Linked DNA regions of Homo sapiens: all the other regions are linked to region 2. Evidence: promoter capture Hi-C in 16 types of primary human blood cells and fetal thymus (Javierre and others, 2016). All regions are on one chromosome and are shown on one strand. The core of a region is centred on a gene start or on the middle of the fragment in contact, and the rest is flanking DNA. Distances in the headings are between cores, read along the strand shown. Region 1 overlaps MECP2 (methyl-CpG binding protein 2). Region 2 holds the start of G6PD (glucose-6-phosphate dehydrogenase). Region 3 holds the start of PLXNB3 (plexin B3). Region 4 overlaps ARHGAP4 (Rho GTPase activating protein 4).

Region 1 (2,700 bases), core at 201-2,700, 520 kb before region 2:
GATCGCACAGGCCATAGCCACTGGTCATATCCATCTTCTCTAAAGAATCCAACTGTCTCTCCTGCCTCACACCTCCCTGTCCCAACGTGGTTGGGAGTGGGGGAGGTGGGGGGAGCTGGGGGAGCTGTAGACGGGGCACTGATGGCACCGAAAACGGGAGTGTCCTCTCAACTGCTCTGTCGCTCTGTCTCTAACGACCACATGGGGGAAAGGTTTGGGCGGGAGGGGAGGTGCCTGGTCAACAGCTTGTCTGGTCAGTAGTATCTGCAGCAAGCCTTGTTGAAGGAGCCTAGTTTAGAAAAGTGCAAAGCTACTTCTGGCCCTGGTTAGGTCTTCAACCTGACTGTGCTTGTCGGTAAGAAAAACATCCCCAATGCTCCAACTACTCCCACCCTGAAGCCACGAAACTCTAAGTTTACTGAAAGAAAAAAAAATATTTTTTATTTCAGTTAATCGGGAAGCTTTGTCAGAGCCCTACCCATAAGGAGAAGAGACAACAGCTGCCTTTATTCTTGTTGGTTTGCTTTGCAATCCGCTCCGTGTAAAGTCAGCTAACTCTCTCGGTCACGGGCGTCCGGCTGTCCACAGGCTCCTCTCTGTTTGGCCTTGGCATGGAGGATGAAACAATGTCTTTGCGCTCTCCCTCCCCTCGGTGTTTGTACTTTTCTGCGGCCGTGGCGGCGGTGGCAACCGCGGGCTGAGTCTTAGCTGGCTCCTTGGGGCAGCCGTCGCTCTCCAGTGAGCCTCCTCTGGGCATCTTCTCCTCTTTGCAGACGCTGCTGCTCAAGTCCTGGGGCTCAGGGGGGCTGGTGGGGTCCTCGGAGCTCTCGGGCTCAGGTGGAGGTGGGGGCAGGGGTGGGAGCAGTGGCACGGGGGCCTTTGGGGACTCTGAGTGGTGGTGATGGTGGTGGTGCTCCTTCTTGGGGGGTGAGGAGGCGCTGCTGCTGCGCCCCTTGGGGCTGCTCTCCTTGCTTTTCCGCCCAGGGCTCTTACAGGTCTTCAGTCCTTTCCCGCTCTTCTCACCGAGGGTGGACACCAGCAGGGGCTTCACCACTTCCTTGACCTCGATGCTGACCGTCTCCCGGGTCTTGCGCTTCTTGATGGGGAGTACGGTCTCCTGCACAGATCGGATAGAAGACTCCTTCACGGCTTTCTTTTTGGCCTCGGCGGCAGCGGCTGCCACCACACTCCCCGGCTTTCGGCCCCGTTTCTTGGGAATGGCCTGAGGGTCGGCCTCAGCTTTTCGCTTCCTGCCGGGGCGTTTGATCACCATGACCTGGGTGGATGTGGTGGCCCCACCCCCCTCAGCCTTGCCCCCTGGCGAAGTTTGAAAAGGCATCTTGACAAGGAGCTTCCCAGGACTTTTCTCCAGGACCCTTTTCACCTGCACACCCTCTGACGTGGCCGCCTTGGGTCTCGTGGTGCCGCTCCCTTTGGGGCGTCCCCGGCCTCTGCCAGTTCCTGGAGCTTTGGGAGATTTGGGCTTCTTAGGTGGTTTCTGCTCTCGCCGGGAGGGGCTCCCTCTCCCAGTTACCGTGAAGTCAAAATCATTAGGGTCCAGGGATGTGTCGCCTACCTTTTCGAAGTACGCAATCAACTCCACTTTAGAGCGAAAGGCTTTTCCCTGGGGACTGTGGGGACAAACAGAAAGACACAAGGAACAATTAGAGGCTCTCCATAGCAATGTCAGAGATAGGGCAGAGCGGATGGTGGTGACAACGCTCTGACAAACGTTACTATTGAACGAGAGTCACACTGCCTGGCTGCCCCTGAGGACCTGTCACCAAAGCCACTCACTCGTCTGCCTGCCGCTGACCCCCCCAGGCCTCTCCAAAGTTCAGCAACCAAAGAGTCAGGCCTGGTACAGAAGGGTTGTCAGGCTGAGGCCCATTCTGCTGGTTGGTGCCTGGGCCTGAGTCACCATCTAGAACATTCCCAAGTTTGAACTCAGGTACGGTGCTCAGTCTCTCCAGGAATCAGTTTCAACAAGATAATCCTTTGCTCACCCTTCTCATGGAATTAAATGAGGCTGTCTGCAAATGTCATTTGAAAACTGCTAACCTTTTTGGGATCATTTAAAAGGCAGAACTGAAACATGCTTCTTCACCCCTCTGAACCCCTAGCTCTGCAAGTTCCTCTGCTTCCGCAGCTATTCCATCCCCAGATAAAGACTTGAGGTGTGGAGAGGATAGAGGGCCTGCTACCTTGAGAACTTCCCACTCAGGGCAGCGACCTCTGTACACGGTCATTTCAAGCACACCTGGTCTCAGTGTTCATTGTTTATGTTCCCCCCGACCCCACCCTGGGCACATACATTTTCCTGCTCCATGAGGGATCCTTGTCCCTGCCCTCCCTGCCCTGTAGAGATAGGAGTTGCTCTTACTTACTTGATCAAATACACATCATACTTCCCAGCAGAGCGGCCAGATTTCCTTTGCTTAAGCTTCCGTGTCCAGCCTTCAGGCAGGGTGGGGTCATCATACATGGGTCCCCGGTCACGGATGATGGAGCGCCGCTGTTTGGGGGAGGCAGAAGCTTCCGGCACAGCCGGGGCGGAGCCTGACCCTTCTGATGTCTCTGCTTTGCCTGCCTCTGCGGGCTCAGCAGAGTGGTGGGCTGATGGCTGCACGGGCTCATGCTTGCCCTCTTTCTCTTCTTTCTTATCTTTCTTCACCTTTTTAAACTTGAGGGGTTTGTCCT
Region 2 (2,700 bases), core at 201-2,700:
CATTTGTTAAGGCATGAACAGGTCTGAAAAAACTACAGAATGAATAGCATTCCCTGTTTTCCCCAAGAAGTCCATCTAGACAGTCCCTAAAGAGCCTGCAACTCCAGGATTAAGGGCTACATTCAGCGGCTAGGCACAGGGTTCAGAAACGTCCTGCAGCCGGGCGTGGTGGCTCATGCCTGTCATCCCAGCACTTTGGGAGGCCGAGGCGGGCGGATCACTTGAGGTCAGGAGTTTGAGACCAGCCTGGTCAACATGGTGAAACTCCGTCTCTACTAACAATACAAAAATTAGCCGGGTGTGGTGGTGCATGCCTGTAATCTCAGCTACTTGGGGGGCTGAGGCAGGAGAATCGCTTGAACCCAGGAGGCCGAGGTTGCAGTGAGCCAAGATGGCGCCACTGCACCCCATCCTGGGCGACCAGAGCAAAACTCCGTCTCCAAAAAAAAAAAAAAAAAAAAGTCTTGCAAGTGCATATGCACACCAGGTAGAGCCGGGATGATCCTGGCGCACTAGCAGGAGCGGGAGGAGGAGCTCAACTTAGCAGAGCCTGTGGGGCCCTGCAACAATTAGTTGGAAAAGCTGAGGCATGGAGCAGGCACTTCCTGGCTTTTAAGATTGGGGCCTGGGAGATACTCACCGATGCACCCATGATGATGAATATGTGTGTATCCGACTGATGGAAGGCATCGCCCTGGAAAAGCTCTTCCCGCAGGATCCCGCACACCTGGGTCCGGCTCAGGGCCACCTGCTCTGCCATGACGCTGTCTGGTGGAAGAAAGGCTCGTTAACAAGGCAGAAGAACAGGAGAGCATTGAGAAGTTAGCCCCTTTCTTGAGAGTTCCTCTGGGGTCTCACACCAGGGTGACACCTGATTGCCCAAATCACTCCTTGTGAACGGCTGGGCATTGGGGAGTGGTTGATGGGTTAGAAACTGCTGGCTCTGGGCTCCAGCCACTCTCTCCTAGGCAGCCTTCATTCAGGGTGTACATTACAAAATTACTCAAAGCATTGGTGTATTCCGACTACAGCATCAATTCTGGACAACCGAGTAAAATCCTTGTGGGGCATGGAACTGCGTGCCCAGGACCATCTCATTCCCGACTGTAGCGGGAACTCCACAATGACCTGGAGCATGGGAGATGGTGCAGATGCTGGAGTTCAGCTCCAGCCCTCCCCTTGCCAAGCTGGGTGACCCCGGTCGGCAAGTCCCCTTCGCTCTCGGGGTCTCAGGGGCTCAAGAGAGGAGGTGCGGGGTATAAAGGGATTGGTTAAGACCCTCTCGATTCTGCTCGGTTCTCAAGCACAACAAACAGCGTGTATTTTACCGCCGCGCGGCGCAGCGCGGGACAGTACGCTCCTCCGCCTGCGCGGCGCCCGCCCGGCCGGTTACCTGCGCTTCGTCGTCGTCGCCCTCCGCGCTCGCAGCCCCGAAGTGTACGACCGTTTCCGGGGGCTGAGCCCCGCCGGCCCATTTAATCGGCGGGGGCGGGGGCGGGCGCCTGGGCTGAGCGGACCCGCCTCAGGCGAGGCGTGCGGGGCGGGGCCTCGGCCACCACCCCTCGTGCGGGCGGGGCGGGGCGAGGGCAGGTGCGCGCGCATCCCAGGCCAGCCCCTGCCTCTCGGGCACCTGCGCTGGAGGCCGGCCCGCCGGCTGCCTGCCATACCCGCTGCCGCTGCTCTGCATCCCCAATTCCGGCGGGCACGGGTGCAGCTCCGCGTAGTGCTCCCGCATCCCCATCGCCGGCCCGGCCCCGCCCCTACTGTCCGGTTTCCCCGCCTGCCCCGGCGGCCTCGCGCGCTCGCGGAGGGCTCCACTTCCGCCGGCAGCGTGGCCACGCCTCCTCTGGGCTGTCCCTCGGCTCCTGGGCGGGGCCTTCTGCCGCGCCACTCCCCCGGGAACCCTCGCCTGTTCGCGGGTCAAGCCGGCCCTATTGGGCAGTCTCTTCTTGATTCCTCCCCCGGAGAGGGCGGGGCGGCCGAGCGCCCCGAGGCTAGACGCCGCCGTCCGAGAGACGAGGGGGCGTGTAGGCGGTGACGCCCTGCAAAGTGGCCGGCGTGCTTATCATTACCGAGCTTCCGCGGGCCTGCAGAGCCTGGCGGACTCAGACTTCTCTCCGGAGCGGGATGCGGCCCTACCGCGGCCTCACACTTCTCGCCGGCTTCCCGAGTTCTCGGGGGCGGGGCTTGTGTTTTTACTTCCGGATCCCACAGCTATGACACCGGAAGCCGGAAGCGTGGTAGGGAAGGGCGACCGCGAAACTGGGACTTTCTCGGAGCGCCGGGGCCCTACCAGCGTTCACAGTCCGCCGCTCCCACCCTTCTCACGTCTGACGGACTCTGCTGACAGGTGTGGTCCTTTTCCCCAAAGACAGGGTTCCATCCGTGGGCGTTCCGCCGCCTCCGAAACTTCCCCCGGACGTTCAGGCTCCCCCCTCTTTTTTGGGCCCCAGCCCGTTCCTGCTCCGCGCTTCTGGAGCACTGGCCAAGGCGGGCCGATTCAGGACCCAGGTTACTTGGGCGGCGAGCTGGACTGTTTCTACTCCTCCCTCCTCCTCCACTGCGGGGTCTGACCCTACTCCTTGTGTGAGGACTCCTCTAGTTCAGAGACATATTCTGTTCACCAAACTTGACTGCGCTCTATCGAGGTCGTTAAATTCTTCGGAAATGCCTCACATATAGTTTGGCAGCTAGGTATCT
Region 3 (2,700 bases), core at 29-2,528, 780 kb before region 2:
TGCCTGGTCTGCCTCCACATCCTCAGCGGCTGCAGGTGAGAAGCTGTGGATCTGGGGCCCAGTGGTCCAGAGCGTGGCCCGTGCCAGAATGCCCAGGTTCAAATCCCATCTCTGTGGAATGCACTCTGAAGAAACGACGTCAGGTCATGGCCCTGGGCAAGTTACCCACCTCTGTGCCCCATTTCTCTCCATGCAGGTTGGAAAGAATGACACAGCTGCTCAGGGAAGCACCCATACCCCGAGTCTGCTGGGCCTTTGAGCTCCAGGGCCAACACCTGGCCCTATACCCTGGCCGCCCCCAGGGCTCCAGCCACCTGAGCCAAGCTTCTCACCCCCAGGCCTCCCCAGCCCCATCACCATTTCCTCCTCCCTCATGGGCCCCTCAGTCTTACCGTCCTCCCACTTCCGCCAGCCCCTCTGTGGATGGCCCTGCCACAGGGGGAACAGTGCCCCAGCAGAAAAGCCCCAGGGTCGCCTGGATTCTCCTGCCTTCGCCTCCTGCCCTGGGTCCAACGCACAGTCTTCAGAATGCTGCCTCCCCAGAGCGCCTCTAGAACGCGCCCGCCTCTCTCCATGCCCATGACCACCACTGGACCAGGCCTCCCCACATTCTCTGCCCCAGTGCCACCAGCTTGCAGTTGCCCATGGCGAGACAAGTTCAAGTTCTCAAGCCTGGCCACAAAGACCCCACCTGATTTGCTGACCTCCGCCACACCCTGGGAGACGGCCCTTGACCAACCTTGTGTTCCAGTCGGTGGGAAACACTGGTTTTTCCTCAACGCCACGTGGGCATGTCACGTCCAGGCCTGGCCTGGGGTAGGCCTCAGCTCCATCTCCTGCCCAACGCCTGCCAAGGTTCATGGTTCAAGGTCATGTAGCCTGACGGTTAAGTGAAGGGGCCCTGTGATTGACTCAGCCTTGCCACATACTAGCTGTGTGACTTTATTCAAGTTTCCTAACCTCCTGTGCCTCAGTTTCCCAACCTGTGTTTGTTTCTGGATGGTGCCAGTGCCAAGCCCAAGCCTGGCATCCAGTAGGTGCTTCGTGCCAGGTTATGGAATGCCCACCCAATAGGAGGGCGCTGCCGTCTCTCACCTGCCAGGTGCCCACGGTCAGTACTCCATCATGCCCGCTGCGGCCAGCAGAGGGCAGCAACATCCTGCCCTGTGCCATTGGGCAAAGGGGCGGGCGGAGAGAGGCTGGGCTGCCTGGCCGGGCTTGTTGGGATGAGTCGGACTGGGCACGATTGCATTGTGGGGAGGGAGGCTGGGGCTCTGTGAGACGTGCTCCTGGCACCGCCAGCTGCTACTTGGCCCTCGCCGGTGGCCCACCAGGTAGGCAAGAGCTGGGGCAGGCTTGGGCTTGGGCTTGGGGTGCAGGGGCTACCAGCCTCAGGGCAAGGCATCAGGGTCTCAGGGCCAACTGGCTGGGGTCAGGCAAGAGCGCTCGGGTGTCGGCCCAGCCTGACGACGGCACTAGGTGTCTGGGAGCACGGTGTCCCCCAAGTGGTAGCCCTGGGGTTAGGAGGTGGGGAACCATGTTTCTTCCCCGAAATGGGAAAGCCAACGCCAGCCTCGGGCAGGGTACAGGGTAGAGAGGCTGCCCGCCTGGCTCCCCACCCCCACAGCCACCCAACTGGCCCAGCCAGGTGACAGCAGCCCACTGCCACCTTGCCCTGGAGCCTACTGCTGCCGTGCTGTGGGGGAGGCAGAGACCCCATCCCCAGTGCACCTGCTCCTGTGCCACTGGCCAGGGTGGCCTGTGAGGGTGACAGGGGGTCTAGCTGCTAGGTGCCCCTCCCTTCCCCATCCCCTGCATGGATGGCATCTAGGCCAGCAGGACGGTGCTTCAGAGGGTGGGGTGGACAGCCCCGGCCTGTGGACCCTCTGCCTCAGCCCATCTCAAGCAGCCTCCTCCCGTGGTCCTGCTCGCTGCCACCATGCTGTACCTGGCACCACTTCACCAGTCCCCAGGGGCAGGGCTGGGCTGGGGGTGTGGAGGAAGATCTTTTGGACAAAGGCAGGCATTGAGGGCCAGGACTGGCACTTCACCCAGGCCCCAAGGCTACCAGCCGGCATTTGCAGGGGCTCCAAGGTCCACCCCGTGCCCTTCACAGGGACCCGGGGAGCCAGGGAGGGGCATGCTTAGTGACACAGGGGTTGCAGGGCCAGAGGGGGAGGGCTGGCTGGAGGAAACCCCGGCCCTTTGTCCCCGGATCCCGGGGGTGGCTCCCTGAGGGTGGGAAGTGGCAAGGAGCCCCCTGTCCAGAACAGCCCAGTGGGGGTGACAGCACTAGCGAGTGGGGCCCTGGCCTGGCCTCTGGACAGAGGGAACATTGTTGTGGTGGAGGCAGGGCTGCCTTGGCCTGGCCACTATTGACAAAGCTGCCAGCTGTGAGGGAGCCCGGTCGCTAGGCCCTGGGCGCCACCCCCACCGCCGCCCCTCCTTCCCCAGGCCAGCTCGAATGGGGCTGAGCCTCGACTGTCTCCCTCCCACTCAGGACAATGCCCCCCCGCAGCCATCTCATGCCCATCGCCACTGCCCTGGGGCAGCTGAACTGAGCGTATGTGCCACGCCGCCCAGGAGACCCCTCTGCTGCACCACTTCATGGTAAGTGCCCAGGCCCGGTGTCCCCAGAAATGTTCCTGGGAGGGGCAGGGTAGGGCAGGATGGCTGTGGCCAGGCCCAGGACATACAGGC
Region 4 (2,700 bases), core at 9-2,508, 620 kb before region 2:
CGACCTCTGCGCTGAGGCCAACAGATGGCCAGAGCCACCCGGTTGAGGGGGAAGGGGAAGGGTGTCCCAGAGAGAGGGGAGAGCCGCCCCAGCGCCAGCCAGGCACCTTTCAGTTTGGCTTCCTGTCTCTCCCTCGTTCCTGGAAAGCCTCTGAATGGTTTCCCCTGCGACTTCCTTTCCCGCCGGTACCCAGGCTCCGGGAGGTGGCAGCCTCCCTTGCAAACACACGGATACACAACACACAGATCACAGTGCTGCTCAGGGCAAGCCTGCAGCGATCTCGCAGTCTCAGTGGCTGGGGAAGCCTGCCCTCAGGCCCCAGGGGAAAGGACAGTCCACAGTGAGGGCTGGGAGCCAGGGAGAGCTGATCCGGCCTTGTAAGTGAAAGAATGGGGCAGGGAGCTAGCCCCCGTCTTCTGACCCCACTTCCCACTCCCAATCACCCCCCGCCCCACCTGTGCATTCCCCCACCCTGCAGAGAGAGTCACACCCAGGGCCCCATACTGCCGGCCTTTTGACACCCTATCACTGGCTTGATTTGGCAACGCTGCTTCCCCCACACAGGCCTGAAGCAAAGAAGTGCCTGTCCAGCAAGTTTAAGCAACCTGCGGAAGACACTTTTGCCATCTCCTGAGTGCCCGTCCCGAGTAAATAAGATGCTAGCTCAGCTTCTGGCCAGCAGGCTGCCCACCTACTCATCTCCATCCACATCCCCAGGGAGGGACATGAATTGATGTCTTCATTCAGCAGAATGTTGATTATGCACCCATTCTGTGGCAGGCACGTTTTAAATACAAAGGCAAAGAGGTTTGACCAAGTGTCTGCCCTCTTGGAGCTGGGATTGGAATGGGGCACGAACACATATCAGAATGCCCAGGAGTGATGGGTGCGGAGAAGATGAACCCACAAAGCAAGATCAGAGCCAGGGGTGGGTGGGGACAGGGAGGACCTCTTTTTAAAGGAGGGTGGTCAAGAACAAGCCGCATCGTTGGAGCAGAAGGCTGGAGCTGGCTGTACGTGGGCAGTAGGGGGAGTCCGAGAGACCGGTAGGGACAGATGGCACAGAGCCCGGGGTCTGGGCAGAGCTCCCAGCTGGACTCCGAGTGAGAGAGGAGCCACAGTAGTGGGGTGATGTGGTCCAGCTTCGTTTTCAGGGCCCCCTCACACTGCCAGGTGGAGCCCAGGTGGCAGCTACTGTGCTAGTCCAGGCAAAAGACGGCAGGATTCAGACCAGCAGCAGCGAGGGAGGACTCCGCTGAGAAGAGCTCAATCCCATTGGATTTCTGTCCCGCCAGTGACTTCCCAGGGGCTGTTGCATGGGGACCCTGTGGGTTCCGCCTGCCCAGCATCCCTACCTCCTCCCCTGATCTCCTATTGGAGAATGTCCCCTTCCTAGTCTCAGCCCCCTTGACTCCAGGTGCCCCAGCCCTGGCTGCATGCGTCACCCATCCCTCTGTCCCTCCACTCCCTGCCCCCACCAGACTAGCCAGGTGAGGGACCCAGGAGCCTGACCCTTCCAATTGAATTACTGAACAGGAGAGCTCTTCCCACCGGCAGATCAAGCTGGGTAAGTGGAAGCCTGGGGCACGGGACCTCCCGACAGAGCAGGGCAGAGCCCACGATGCCAAGTGAGACAGATGGAGAGTGTCTTCATCCTATCCGAGGCTGGCCTCCTGTGGTTAACTCGTCAGCTCCAAGGCCAGGTGGGGTGGGCGCTAATGCCATTTGAAATCAGGAGAGTCCTCACTGAATCAGTTTAACGTTTTGTTTTGATTTTTTGTTTTGAGACGGAGGATGTTGCCCAGGCTGGAGTACAGTGGTGCGATCTCGGCTCACTGCAACCTCCGCCTCCCGGGTTCAAGCGATTCTCCCGCCTCAGCCTCCCGAGTAGCTGGGACTACAGGGGCGCACCACCACACCCAGCTAATTTTTGTATTTTTAGTAGAGACAGGGTTTCATCATGTTGGCCAGACTGGGTCTTGAACTCCTGACCTCAGGTGATCCGCCCGCCTCGGCCTCCCAAAGTGCTGGGATTACAGACGTGAGCCACCACGCCTGGCCCAGTTTAACATTTTTTGATAAAAGTAAATTTCATTTCATTCCAAGAAAGGTGTTAGACAACTGCTCGCCTCACTGGCCCTCTGGAGCCTGCCCTGCCCTGCTTCCCCCAGAGGAATACAATCCCTGGGGACTTATGACAACTGAACAGTGCAGAAGGAACCAGCAGAGGGAACCGCTGCCTTTCTTCATCACTGCCGGCAGCAAAAGCTGACTGGAAGCCATGTCCTAGTCCAGATCCGGGCATGCACACCGGCTGGTGTTGAGCAGGCAACTTGTGAATTGCAAGTCGATTGCATTGGTGGCTTTCCTGGCAGAGCTTTCGGATCTCAGTTCAGACAAACTCGTCAGCACACCCTGTCCTGACCTCCCCCTAAACTAGGGCTGGCCCTCTTCCGACCCCTTCTTGGCACCGTGCACTTTCCTTCCCTTTGTAGTGCTTATTATCATAATGCAAAGTCTATGTCTCCCCCACTAGACCCGTGAGCCATGTGAGGGCGGGGTGGCCACTGACGCCATTTGAAATCAGGGGAGTCCTCATTGAATCATTGCTTTTACTCTGGGTAAAAAGCCAGGGCTGGAGGGGCTGGAGTCGGGGTTCTCTCTGGTACAGCAGTATACTCCCAGGGCCTGGGACAGCAC

What was found. The method cuts DNA at HindIII sites, captures the fragments that hold promoters and counts their contacts. A CHiCAGO score of 5 or more calls a contact.
Region 1: a fragment that was not itself captured here is called in contact with the fragment with the promoter of G6PD in region 2 in 5 of 17 cell types (naive CD8 T cells, total CD4 T cells, activated CD4 T cells and 2 more); the score reaches 7.6 in naive CD8 T cells.
Region 3: the fragment with the promoter of PLXNB3 here is called in contact with the fragment with the promoter of G6PD in region 2 in 1 of 17 cell types (total CD8 T cells); the score reaches 9.6 in total CD8 T cells.
Region 4: a contact is called between a fragment that was not itself captured here and the fragment with the promoter of G6PD in region 2, in 5 of 17 cell types (total B cells, total CD8 T cells, non-activated CD4 T cells and 2 more). The highest score is 10.1, in total B cells.

The regions. Positions count from the first base shown.
Region 1 is chrX:154,029,820-154,032,519 of GRCh38, forward strand. It overlaps MECP2 (methyl-CpG binding protein 2), which reads right to left. Exons shown (of 3, transcript NM_001110792.2): 2 at 2,388-2,700; 3 at 1-1,631. The coding sequence ends at 548. Among named protein-coding and RNA genes, the nearest start is that of MIR718, 11 kb to the left of the region's middle. RefSeq lists an enhancer at 2,619-2,700. The HindIII fragment of the contact is 1,982 bases long and covers 460-2,441 here.
Region 2 is chrX:154,545,396-154,548,095 of GRCh38, forward strand. It overlaps G6PD (glucose-6-phosphate dehydrogenase), which reads right to left and starts at 1,451. Exons shown (of 13, transcript NM_001360016.2): 1 at 1,394-1,451; 2 at 641-768. The coding sequence starts at 760. IKBKG (inhibitor of nuclear factor kappa B kinase regulatory subunit gamma) reads left to right here and starts at 2,225. Exons shown (of 10, transcript NM_001099857.5): 1 at 2,225-2,350. RefSeq lists enhancers at 487-1,030, 2,333-2,612 and a silencer at 1,333-1,892. The HindIII fragment of the contact is 7,888 bases long and covers 1-2,700 here.
Region 3 is chrX:153,762,971-153,765,670 of GRCh38, forward strand. PLXNB3 (plexin B3) reads left to right here and starts at 1,279. Exons shown (of 36, transcript NM_005393.3): 1 at 1,279-1,334; 2 at 2,501-2,610. The coding sequence starts at 2,566. PLXNB3-AS1 (PLXNB3 antisense RNA 1) reads right to left here. Exons shown (of 3, transcript NR_199696.1): 2 at 740-879. The HindIII fragment of the contact is 7,823 bases long and covers 323-2,700 here.
Region 4 is chrX:153,922,018-153,924,717 of GRCh38, forward strand. The region is part of intron 1 of ARHGAP4 (Rho GTPase activating protein 4); the gene reads right to left. Among named protein-coding and RNA genes, the nearest start is that of ARHGAP4, 2.9 kb to the right of the region's middle. RefSeq lists enhancers at 1,407-1,907, 2,414-2,543. The HindIII fragment of the contact is 3,334 bases long and covers 1-2,700 here.